Regions from separate parts of the Homo sapiens genome. Here region 2 is linked to region 1. Evidence: promoter capture Hi-C in human tissues and cell types (Jung and others, 2019). All regions are on one chromosome and are shown on one strand. The core of a region is centred on a gene start or on the middle of the fragment in contact, and the rest is flanking DNA. Distances in the headings are between cores, read along the strand shown. Region 1 holds the start of MTMR7 (myotubularin related protein 7). Region 2 overlaps MTUS1 (microtubule associated scaffold protein 1).

What was found. Contacts are between HindIII fragments. The study calls those that stand out against the background at their distance.
Region 2: a contact is called between a fragment that was not itself captured here and the fragment with the promoter of MTMR7 in region 1, in 2 of the 25 tissues and cell types used here (dorsolateral prefrontal cortex and hippocampus).

Annotation. Positions count from the first base shown.
Region 1 is chr8:17,409,936-17,416,098 of GRCh38, forward strand. MTMR7 (myotubularin related protein 7) reads right to left here and starts at 3,416. Exons shown (of 14, transcript NM_004686.5): 1 at 3,334-3,416. The coding sequence starts at 3,357. The HindIII fragment of the contact is 4,025 bases long and covers 2,487-6,163 here.
Region 2 is chr8:17,691,951-17,698,113 of GRCh38, forward strand. All of the region lies in intron 6 of MTUS1 (microtubule associated scaffold protein 1), which reads right to left. Among named protein-coding and RNA genes, the nearest start is that of MIR548V, 13 kb to the left of the region's middle. The HindIII fragment of the contact is 6,124 bases long and covers 1-5,749 here.

The DNA of each region.
Region 1 (6,163 bases), core at 2,166-4,665:
AGAAGATGATTGTCACAAAACGAGGCTGGAGAAGTAGGAAGGGCTCAGTCTACAAAGGGCCTTACGAGCAGTTCTGAGGATTCTCACTTTATATCCTGGGTACAAAGGGAAGCCACCTAGGAAACTTAGCAGGGAAGTAGCATGATCAATTTGAGACATAAAAGCATCATCCAGGCCCCTCTGTGAGAAAGGGATTAGAAAAGAGCAAAAAAAAATAAATCAGGAGACCAGTCAGGGTCAGACTAGGGGGTAGGTGTACCAAGGAAGAGAAGACATTTGCAAGGTCTGTTTTGGAGGTTATCACGTATTCTATTTCATAACTCAAATTTACACATGTGGGAAAAATGCCTTCCAGAAAGACCAAAGCATATAAAGTAGAAATCACTTACCAGGATCCTGGACACATTTGCCTCAATCTAGTACCAAACTAAATCCTACAAACACTTCAAGCTACTTCCAGGAGCCCTGAAGTCTTTTCATTTAATTAAGCAGCACTTGAACCCAAATTATGCCTAAGCTTCCAGCAAGTTTTCAGAGTGGTAAGGAAACCCAGACAGTGAAGTAGAAACCTAGAAGTTCACTGGGATGAGTACAGGTAATACTTGGTGTCCCCCCTTTAACCCAACTGCAAACCAGCCTGTCCTTGGAACTTTTTTTTCCCCTCTAGAGGAACCATTCTGGAAGGGAAGCACTCTGCTTAGCATATGCTCTGTTAAAGGCTTCAGTTAAACATACATGCACCCCTAGAAAGAAATATGTGCAAAGCATTCCAGATTATGCACGTGCATCTGTCTCCTTAAACTGCACTCCAGAGACTAAAGCAGAACACAGAGGCTGTCATGGATATTACACAGTCTACAGCGAGTGAATGACTTCCATTGTAACAGAAAAGCAACTGTACATTATACATGCATACAATTCTTTTCCTCTTAAAACTCTACTACCCACACAGTAAATATTGCTATAAACCCACAGTGGGCCAGAAAAACAAACTTTGTATACACTCCTTGCAAACCCAAGACATGAAACCATGAAATCGAAGGAAATTTACCTATAGTTTCACCAAGTATAATGGAAGCAAATAATAAAGATGAATATGACCAGTAACAATTATATATTTAACTCTGCAAGCTCTGTAAGTAATGTTGTTCTCTTTTTCATTTAGACTGTGAAAATTAATTTTGCCCTTAAAAATGTAAAACAAAAGGAGGATGTTATTTAACCTCAAGGAATCATTTATCTTTGACCATTGTTATTGTTTTCAGTTTCTTTAGGGTTGTAATTATTTATTACAATATATATTTATACAAGTACATGACCACTGTTGAAAATGCTCCTAGTCCTCCTTAAGTCCTTCCATGTTAAGACGGCTCTTCTAAGAAGGCTTCCCTTGACCTTGAGGGCAGAGCTGATCCTCTCTTCAGTCTCCCTCTCTACCCACTGCACCTTGCACATGTCTCTATCATACACTGACATATTTACAACTGCCTCCCCTTAGAGATTGTGAGTTCCTGGACGCTTCCAGCACTTAACACAGAGCCTGGCACATGAAAGGTTCTAAATGCTTGTAGAATAAAATAAATGAATAAATGAATCCGATCCATCCAACCTCTGTAATTTCTTATTTTTTTCACCAGCTTTATCCCAAATGTTAATGACTCACCCAATTCAGTAACACTTCAGACAATTTTCCATTTTCCCCCAATTTGTTTCCATTTCCAGATAAATAAGGATTTCTGACTTCAAGTACTGCACTGCTTAGAGGGTATCCATAAACACCAATTTTAAGAGTAAGAACACTGCTTGCAACTCAGGTTCACACGTGACTTTGTACCAGGTGGCTTTGTATATAGAACAGAAAAGGCCTTGACTCCCCCAAATTCATATTCTCTAACAAAGTGGCATCCACTGCCATGTCACTGTATCATTCTTGCTATCAATATCCACAACAGCTATCACTTTTACAAACGGCTCCCTTCATCATGGAAGGAGGAAGAATGCCCTTGGCAAGGGCAGAGTCCATGAGTTAAATTCACCCTTCTGGAATAAATTATTTAGTACCACTTAAACTCTGAAAGCTTTGAGCCACCTATTCTGTGGTTTGTAGCATTGTCTTCTAAGTTTACAATTTCATGATTGTGAAGCGACAACTTAATTCCCTAGTGCAAAATCAATACAATTTAAATTTACTGTCGGAACTGACATTCTCCAGCAAACTAAAAGATTTCTTCTTCCAATGACATGAGATCATTTTAATCTGCTTTTACAAAAAGGTACTCAGGAACTATTCCAAAATTTAGGAATCAATTCTTGCTGGCCATAAAGCAATTGCCCCCACCCCTCTTAAATGTGTGGGATCCCTGGAACCACCTGAGCTATGGCCACTCTGACCTAGCTTTGACCTGTCAGGGGCCTACATTTTGAATGGAAGTTCATCCTGCAAAAACGCAAGGAGCTGTGGTGGTAGTAACAACAGACAGCCAATAGGGTTTTTAAGCATATTCTTTCACTCGTTTAGGGTTTTTATCATGCAGTAACGTCGATCATCATTTTCATTCTAAATTAGATTATCAGTACAACTGAGGAGGAAGATTTGGTACAGCGATCAACGTTTCCAATGTTAATTTACTGGAGTGATCAGGGACCATTTGCTTTTGTTAATTAGCAAAAGCTGGTGTTGTTAAAACACAACAGTGCGTGACGAATCCGTAAGCTGCATCCTTTTCTCTAACGAACAAAACGGACTGGAAAAGGCAAGAACACACCATCATTCAACCTACAATGAATATTGATTATCCGTTCTGTGTAAGGCCCCTTGCAGCTGCTACGCTCAGGATGAGGATGCTGACTGGGAAGGCCGAGCCGGGTGGGCCTGACACCCTAGATTTAACAAGCTTCCAAGCGCAGGAGTCCCTCTGCATTTAGCTCGTTTTCCTTGCACCTGTCACCGAAAGGCTTATTTCCCTTTCAACTACTCTGAGCGGCCAACAGCTAAAAGAGAAAGCCTCGTGCCAGGAGAAAGAAGGGTTGATCTACACCCAGTTACTAGCAGACAACTGAGGTTCCCTCCCGTTCACCCTTGTGTCCACTGCGCTCCCCCAAAACCAAGAGGTCAGACCCAGCAGCAGCTAAGGCTAGGCCTGGGAGGCAGCAAGAGAACGACCGGGCTCGCAGGCACCCCGGGATGCTCAGGCAATGCCTGCTCCTCCCTCGCCCGCGGTCCAGGCTCCGCCGGTGCCCCTCAAAGCAGTCGGCCTCCCGCGCGCTCAGCATCCCTCCTCCTCCTCCCCCATCTCCTCCCGTCCCTCCTCCGCCCGCGCTGGTGTCACCAACCTTGGGCGTACGGATGTGCTCCATGGCTGGCCCACGTCTGCAGGGTCCCGGGCGGGCGCGGCCTCACGCACCTGCGCGCCTCTGCGGCGCGATGGGAGGGGCGCGGGGAGGGGGCTTCGCGCCCGGGAGTGGGCGGGACGCGGTCTTGGCTCCGCCCCCAGGTGTTCCGCGCGCGGCGTGCGGACCCGGGGCTCCCGCGCGGCCCTAGAGAGCCCACCTCCGCGCCTGCGCCCACCTGCGCCGCCGCCGCGACGCGCCTCTGCCTGGGGTTGCCGGGGCGAGGGCTGCTCGCTCTCTCTTAACAGGGGCAGCCGGCGGAGCACTATACGGCCACTGTTCTCCGAGACACAAAGAGGGCCTTGTTTTGGGTGTGGCCTCCTGGAAGAGAGATGGGGAGTACAGGCTGCTCCACACCGTCCCTGGGCTTCCTTCTAGGGCGTCCTGGGATAGCTAGGATTTCAGGGTGGGGCAGAAAAGAAGGCTGCCACAGACACTCTAGACCCAGGACGGTCTTGTAGGCTCAATGTGTGTGTTTCATCCCAGGCGCGGCCGGCATAGCGCTCGGGGTGCGGGTGGAAATAATAGCAGCAGTGTTAGCGCCTTGGTAAGCGCGCTCCTAAGTCAGGCATCTCACATCCACCTGCGACTTCACTGTTGCAGGCGACACTTTTCCCCTGGCACAGTGTTGGGTGCTCATTTGCCCTCTTTATTTAGCTCCAACTGAACTGAGAGATAGAGATACAAAGCATCCATTATGCGGTACCATTTCCCTATTGATGGTATTAACAGTAGTTGGTGCCATTGTTAGCGTTAGGCCTCTTGGGAAAAGCCAAAGAGAGGAAGAACGCCCTCCATTTTTTTTTTCTTGCAGCCCTAAGAGTACAATGCTCCACCATAAGTGAAATTTTATAGAATTCTACATAGTTCTGTTCAATTTTTTCCTCGCTCTTACTCATCTTTCAGGCTGGATTGTGATTTTTTTTTTTTTTCCGTAGAGACTCTGCTTACCGTTTTTTTATCTAATACCTGGACACATTGCAGCCTTCCAGCAAATAATTAATACGGTGTTGAATTTATTTTTAAAATTCCAGATCCCTCTTTCACAGGTCTTCTACCATTTCATCCTCCTACTGCTTTGGGAGGCAATTAGAACAAGTTTACCATTAGTTTACATTATTAGAAGAACTACTCTGGAAAGCCACAGCTGATTCTTTTGGAAGTGAAAAGAACACTTTCGTTGTTGTTGTCACATAAAGCCACTGAACTTTAACGCTGAATTGAGCCTAGCCTATACTATGTTGAAGTGGAAAGGGAATTTGAGAGTCAAAATAATGCACTGTCTCTACCTTTGTGTTTGTGATTTTTTTAAAGAGGGAGTTGGTAATGCCTTTAAAGATCTCTAGGGACACCTAACCATAAGCAAGACCTAAACTACTTGATTGCAAGTTACCAAACGTCTTCTAGAGAATTCTTCTTATGCAACTTTTATCACATAGATAATTCAGTTGCAAATACTTTTGCTAACAGAATTTTAAAATACAACCTTGATTTTAACTGGGCATTTTCCCAAAATCCTGTGATATTCAATGGCCTGAGGAGATTTGAATTCTTATCAAAAACACTTGCAAGACTTTTTCCAGAATACTTATATTTCTCTTGAGGCAAGGCAAACTTCTGATTTGGCAGTGAGACCAAACCCTGTTTCCTTAGGGATGGTATTGCTAATTATTACAAACTCAATACGATCCTATTCAGCGTAATTAAACCCAAATGGACCATATTATAAGTGGAGGAGGGAACACATCTCTGAATAAACTCAGCCTCATCTGGAGTCACTCAGTATGATAGGGTCAGAGCTGCATTTGGGGTTCTGCCTGGCAAAAAGTAAAAGCGGCCTCTCTTCAGGATTTTTATGAACTCAATGATGCAATGTATCAATGTCTCTGTTGGCCTTGCCCTATAACAAAGATGTGGAGGAAAAGCACTCAGTGGATTGCAGTCAGCTCTGCCCTTTTTCTAGCAGCCAAAAGGGAAATTCTAGGGCAGCATGAAAAGAGTGTTTACTCTGTGAACAGTCAAGGCTTTAAAATAGCCTCCTCCCAAAACTGTGAAACTGCTGGAATAAAACATAGGGGAAACTCTTCAAGACATTGGTCTTGGCGAGGATTTTTGGGATAAGAACTCAAAAGCATAGGCAGCAAAGGCAGAAAGAGACAAATGGGATTACATTAAATTTAAAAGCTTCTATACAATAAAGGAAACGACAGAGTAAAGAGACAGCCTACACAAGGGGAGAAAATATTTGCAAACTACGCATTTGCCAAGGGGTTAATATCCAGAATATAAAAGGAATTCAAACAACTCAACAGCAGAAAAACCAAATAGTCTGATTTAAAAATGGGCAAAAAAAACTGAACAGAGATTTCTCAATATGAGACCTACAAATGACTAACAGGTCTATGAAAAAATACTCAGTATCACTAATGATTAGGAAAATGCAAATCAAAACCACAGTGAGCTATCACCTCACCCCAATTAGACTGACTATGATCAAAAAGACTAACAATAACTAATGCTGGCAAGGAGGCAAAGAAATGGGAACCCTTATGCACTGTTGGCAGGACTGTAAATTAGTACAGCCATTATAGAAAACAGTATAGAGCTTCCTCAAAAAATGAAAAATAGAGCTACCGTACGATCCAGCAATCTCACCAGTGGGTATTTATCCAAAGGAAATGAAATCACTATGTTGAAGAAATATCTGCACTCCCATGTTTATTGCAGCACTATTCACAATGGCCAAATATGAAATCAACCTAACTGTCCATCA
Region 2 (6,163 bases), core at 1,438-3,937, 280 kb after region 1:
TCAAATGTTAAGACTTACGTCCAAACGACAAAATAACTTGAAAGTTTAATGGAACCATTACACACAGGTAATCAATGCCCCTCCAAAACGCATAGAATAGAGAAAAAATAGCAAGGCCTGTTGCAAGATCCAACTTGTTAAATAATACACTCCCCTCATTTATAATCGGCCAACATCCGCTTGAGAAATACCTGTTCTGCCTTCTCTGTGGCAGATATTCCAATAGAGCTCTTATAACATTTTATACCTGTCTGTGGGACAGAGACTAGAGAAGTCACACGCTCTATTTCCCAGCCTCCCTTCCAGGTCGAGTCATGTGACTAAGACCCGGCCAATGAGACGGAAGCTTAAGCGACCTGGCACCACCCCTTCCTCATTTCTTTTTCTTCCTTCCTGGAGCAGCTACTGTGAGATCATGAGGCAACAATCATGAGGACACGGCTAAGAAGACAGCAGAGATGAGGATTCCTGACACGGCAGAGCCACCGAACAACCTCAAAGCTGCTTTTCTTCAGGTGAGACAAGTTGCTTCTTAGTGAAGCTGTTAATTCCATCTAAAAAGAGTCAAAAGTGAATACCAAATGCGAGAACATAATTTGATGAATTTCATCCTAATTAAACAAACGCATTCACATTCTGCCTGCCTGTTACTGAACACTTCTTTAAAACGGTTCTCTTCACGAACACAAAGAAGGGAAACAACAGATGGGGGTCTAATTGAGGGTGCAGGGTAGGAGGAGGGAGAGGAGCAGAAAACAATAACTTGGGTGCTGGGCTTAATACTTGGGTGATGAAATCATCTGTACAATAAACTATTTATTGTACAAGAATCTGTACAATAAACTCTGTGACATGAGTTTACCTATATAACAAACCTTTACATGTACCCCTGAACCTAAAAGTTCAAAATAAAATAAAATGGCAAAAGTAAATGGAAATATTTTGTTCTGATACTACCTCTGCCATCCCTCGATACGTACGTACACATGTTCCTCCCTTGCGCTGCAGTAATCACTTTTAATGTCACTAGCTCAGCAGAAAGAATTCTGTCTTTAGCGTACTGAATTGCCTTCACTGGAGTCAAGAAGGAAATTAACCTGTGAGGTTCAAATGGCACTCTTCATAGCAATTAATACAAGAATTTCCAGCTTCATAGAAAAACTGAATGCTAAGTGGCAGGGAATATTTCTTAGCAAAGTCTTTTCCCTCCACTAACTCATTATAAAAATAGAACTAATATGTTGAGGTAGAATTCCGAAATAGACCGAGTTTAATACTTTGGTAAAAAGACTATTGCTGACCCTTCTCCATGTCAGTGACGTCATCACTGGACTTCTTAGATTTTCATCTGTGCCTAATGTCCTGCAACATCACGCACAGTTCCTGACAAATTCACTCTTTTCCTCCTCTCCCCTGTTTAAAGAGGAAAGATAACCTCGATCCAACAACACGCTTTGCCAGTGATGGATACCACCCAGTAATAATATATCAGAGTGCCCAGTGCCCTCTGCGTGGGATCAATGAGAAAGCTTATTCTGGCCGGATCTCTACAATGACCAGCCCCCGTCCCACCACATTCTATGCTCAGAAATACTACAACTCCTTTGTTTCCTTGAAGGAGCCCTTCCTCAAGCCCCTCAAGGTTTTTACATGCTGTTTTCTCTGTCGGAAACACTTTGTTTCTTAGTAAATTCTCCATTTCCTGAGGACCCAACTTAAAAGGCACTTCTACTGGAGGACCTGGATTAAAGGTACCTCCACCTGCTGAGAGCTGCTTGGGCACAAGTCCACACCCTGCATTATTAACTGGTGCTCTGTCTCCTTCTGTTAAACAGTGGGCTGTGTGAAGGCAGGGTCCATGTGGGACTTAGTCCCAGTCATACTTTCAGCACCTACCATTATGCCTGGTACACAGTACTCATCTAACGGGTACTTCTTTATGAAACGAATGAATTAATCTGTAATGTGAAAGACAGTCTAGAAGCAAGGGAAAGGCTGGAGGCACAGACCAAATACTAAGCTCTTCAGAAAGCCCAGTCAACATCTTAGGCTGGATTATACAAAACTGTTCCTATTTGGCTACTTTTGACTTATTATACAAAAGTGTTCATATTTGGCCACTTTTTACCTATTAATTTTTTGTGTGTGGTTTTTTAAATAGAGACAGGGTCTCATTAACTCTCCAGGGCTGGTCTCAAACTCCTAGCCTTAAGTGATTCTCTTCCCTTGGCCTCCCAAAGTACTGGGATTATAGGTGTGAGCCAGTGGCACCAGCCAGGAAGAGCAGTTTCAATGCTTCAACATGATAATGCCTGGACTAGGGTAATGGCAGGTGGTAAAAACAAATCAAGATTTCAAATGATGGAGTCTTAGAGTTTTCAACCAATTGATTGTGGATAAATCAGGACAAGTAATGATTCAAAGGTGAGGTTTGGCCAGACGTGGTAGCTCATGTCTGTAATCCCAGCACTTTGGGAGGCTGAGGCAGGCGAATTGCCTGAGGTCAGGAGTTCCAGACCAGTATGGCCAACATGGTGAAACCCCATCTCTATTAAAAATACAAAGAAATTAGCCGGGTATGGTGGTGGGCACCTGTAATCCCAGCTACTCGGGAGGCTGAGGCAGCAGAATTGCTTGAACCTGGGAGGCGGAGGTTGCAGTGGGCCCAGACAGCACCAGTGCACTCCAGCCTAGGCAACAGAGCGAGACTCCATCTAAAACAAAGCAACAAAAAAACAACAAAAACCAAAGGTGGGGTTTGATGACCAGACACATGGTGTCATGAAAAGAAACAGATAATTCATGAGTATTAACTGAATTTAGGAGGTAAAAAAATAAGGAGACAAATCATTTAGATAAGATGAATTTCCAAGCAGAGTAATACACTGAGGGTTTTCAAATCTTCAGCCAGAAATTCACAGATTTGGAGGCTAAGGGGAACCTGGAAGTCATCTCTTGTGGTTCCCTTATTTTGTAGCCGTGTGAGGTTAGGTGCACAGGGCTATTCACTTGGTCACCAGCAGAATCAAGGCTACAATCCAGGCCTCTTGGGATCCAGGTCAACACCACTGCACTGAGGCAACCAACACCACTTCCTTCACTAAGGATACCAACCCAAGTTACTGCTGACAGTCCATTCAGATAAGAGTCACCATGACGGCATGAATTACCCACTTGACGGACGATTTCTCGGACGTTAAAATGACATAACATGGATAAGCCCATCAAAGACTGATATTGGGAGTAAGCAGAATTATATTCCTTACATGATTTTAAAAAGCCTCCAACACACAAAACGCTTCCTCCATCCCTGCTATTCCTTGGATCTAACAAAATTACAGCAAAATTTGCAGCTGGAAAATATGTACGCCAAAAATTCTAAATAGAAGTCCCAGGTTTTAGTCCTATCTCTGGCACTTACTGTGTGCCTCTGGGCAAGCGAATTCACTTCTCTGGGCCTCAGACTTCCTGGTATAAGACAGATTAGATCACCTCTATGTGAACTCTAGCTCAAAAAATTATGACTGCAAATAAACAGAAAATAGTTTTACGTAAGTTTAGAAAATAAAATGTGTCCAATACATCACTATCAACTAAACCCTGGTAATAGAAGCCTTGTGTCGTTTGCTTACGCTGTCTTGGAAAGCTATCTGCTTCACAACAACACTACAGACAACTTAGAATGTCTACTACTAGAGCACTGGTTAAGTAAATCATGACTTACCCAATAATGGAATGTTACAGAACTATTTTTTTTAATGAGGTAGATAAACATGTGATCACATGCAAATCTAAAACACATTAACTTTAAAAAGGTATAGAATATATAGTACGCTTTTATTTCTGTATAACAAAAAAGAATAAAAAAGACCTGCATAGATTTACATGTGACTGGAAACGTGCAAGAACACTATGCAAGCAGCTGAGAGCGGCTGTCTCCACGGAGAGCAGACAGGGACTCTGGGTAAGAGAGAGGCTTGCCTAGGACTGCACAACCTTCCATACTGTTTGATTTTTAACTTGGAGCGTGGATTACAGTATTTTTAAAAGAACTCTTTAAAATTAAAAGCTATTTGGAGCTACTTTAGATCAGACAAATTATTGCAAATATAGGGCACCCTTTGTTATTTTTCCCCCCTATTAATTTGTTCAGTTGGAAGGGCTGCAGCGGCCCTGAGCTGGGAGAGGAGGGCCACTGCTGACCTCCTCCTCGCTGCCTCCCCCCATTTACCGTCAGCTCAGACTGAAAGGGAGAGGCTGGCAAAATCAAATGACAGGTCAAGGGGAGTTATGAAACACGAGAGAGAGGTGCTGGAAAAAATGAGAATTCTCCCACAGAGAAGGGAGATGCCTCTGGGAAAACTAAAAATAGTCAGCTGAAAACAAATCACCAGGGACAGAGATGAGCCACGTGGAAAATAAGAAACACGAGGGGTCACGTGCACATGAAGCAGAAACAAAAATCTATTTACATCCTCATCAAACATTCCTGTGACACCTAACGCTATTCAGCCCAAAACAAATATAAAAACACCCCAGCTAACATATTTTACAGAATAAAACTGATTTAATTTACTGTAGCTGTAAAATCATCTAGGACAAAAGTAGCAACATAGGCCAACCCAATGCCCTAAAAGTGAGCAGACAGGTCACCACGTGCCTAAAATATATACTAAATTTATTTTCATCTTAGGCACCGAAAATAATAAGCAGATACAAACATAAACCTCAGGGGAAGTATTTTGAGACTGCACACACTTTTATTATGAAGATTGGAAAACTAGATTTGTGATTCACTTACTACTTCCCCATAACCATTAGGATGTTTTCTGTCAGAAGTGTTTAGTATACAGAAATCTTTTAGCATATTAAAATTAACTGTCAAATCTGACTGAGAAACTATCCAATGAAAAACGATGGGAACCTTCTCATCTACACAGGCGAACAGGAAATATTCTTCTAAATTTACCTGTGTCCTATTTCCCAAACACTGGAACTAAAATATAATTTAACAGGTGCTGATTTTCACACATTTGGCTGGTGATGGAGAAAAGAGCTAGGGAACACCAAGGCAACAATTCTGCCTTCCATCAACACAAACAACACAATCTGCTGCCAAAAGTAAAAGTACTATGCACTTGTGCTGAAGCAACAGAAAACAATTTTTAAATTAAGCCTCATCTCTCATTAGAGAGAGCTTTTTTCCTCCAATTATCTGTCTCCTTGGAAAAACCTCTGATAAACATCTGCAAATTAATGAAGACATCCCCCGTGCAACACTAAACAGAGATCTATGCGAGACAGACCTGTGTGGAAAACAACAGTGCTTCTCCTAAACCCTGAAGGAAGTCGAAGGTTTCGAAGCAATCCTTTGGCCGTCAGTCGTATGTGAATGGTGGATAAGGAGAATTTGGGAGACAACAACATGTCTTCGGAGCAGGTGGCGAGATTTCACAGAAGAGGCAATTTCCATGGACTGTCACATACTGTCTTTTTAAACTCAGTACTCTTCAAGGCCAAGAAATACAGTCAGAGGAAAGATGCCTACACAGCAAATGTCATTCCACCAGAGAGGCATAGAAGAAAAAAATCCCCCAGGGCTGGCCAAGTGTTTCTGGCTTCCGTTTTCACTTTCAGATGTTGCCAAAATGATGCTCTTCCTCTGAATACAATCTCCCTCCTGCAGGTCTAGAAGCTGCCTCTGAACCACATCACACTGTGCATGCTTGTGGAGTTGTTATGGTTTTCATCCGAGATGGTAAAGGGGAGGAGAAAGTGGGTGGTCTCAGGAGCTTTACAGAACAACCAATAATGTCACAGATCCTGTAACCACTTGAAAGATCGCTAGGGGAAATTAACTACTTCAAGTGCCTAATGTTTCTTTCATAATTAGAAAAAAATTAGGATTTCCTGAAAGTAAACTGTGTCCTGATTTTAACATTTTTCACTCCTTATATTCACAATGATAACATGAGCATTTTTTCTCTAGATATTTTACATGTAAACTACATTTAAACCTGGTATTTTGGAAAAGTTTTTTTTTTAAAGACTTCAGGCAATAAATGTTCTCAACTACAATATTTAAGAAAATTTCTATTCTAATATATTAATGACAGATTGTCAAAAGGTTAAAGTTCAACTTTAATTCCCACATGCTGAGGAC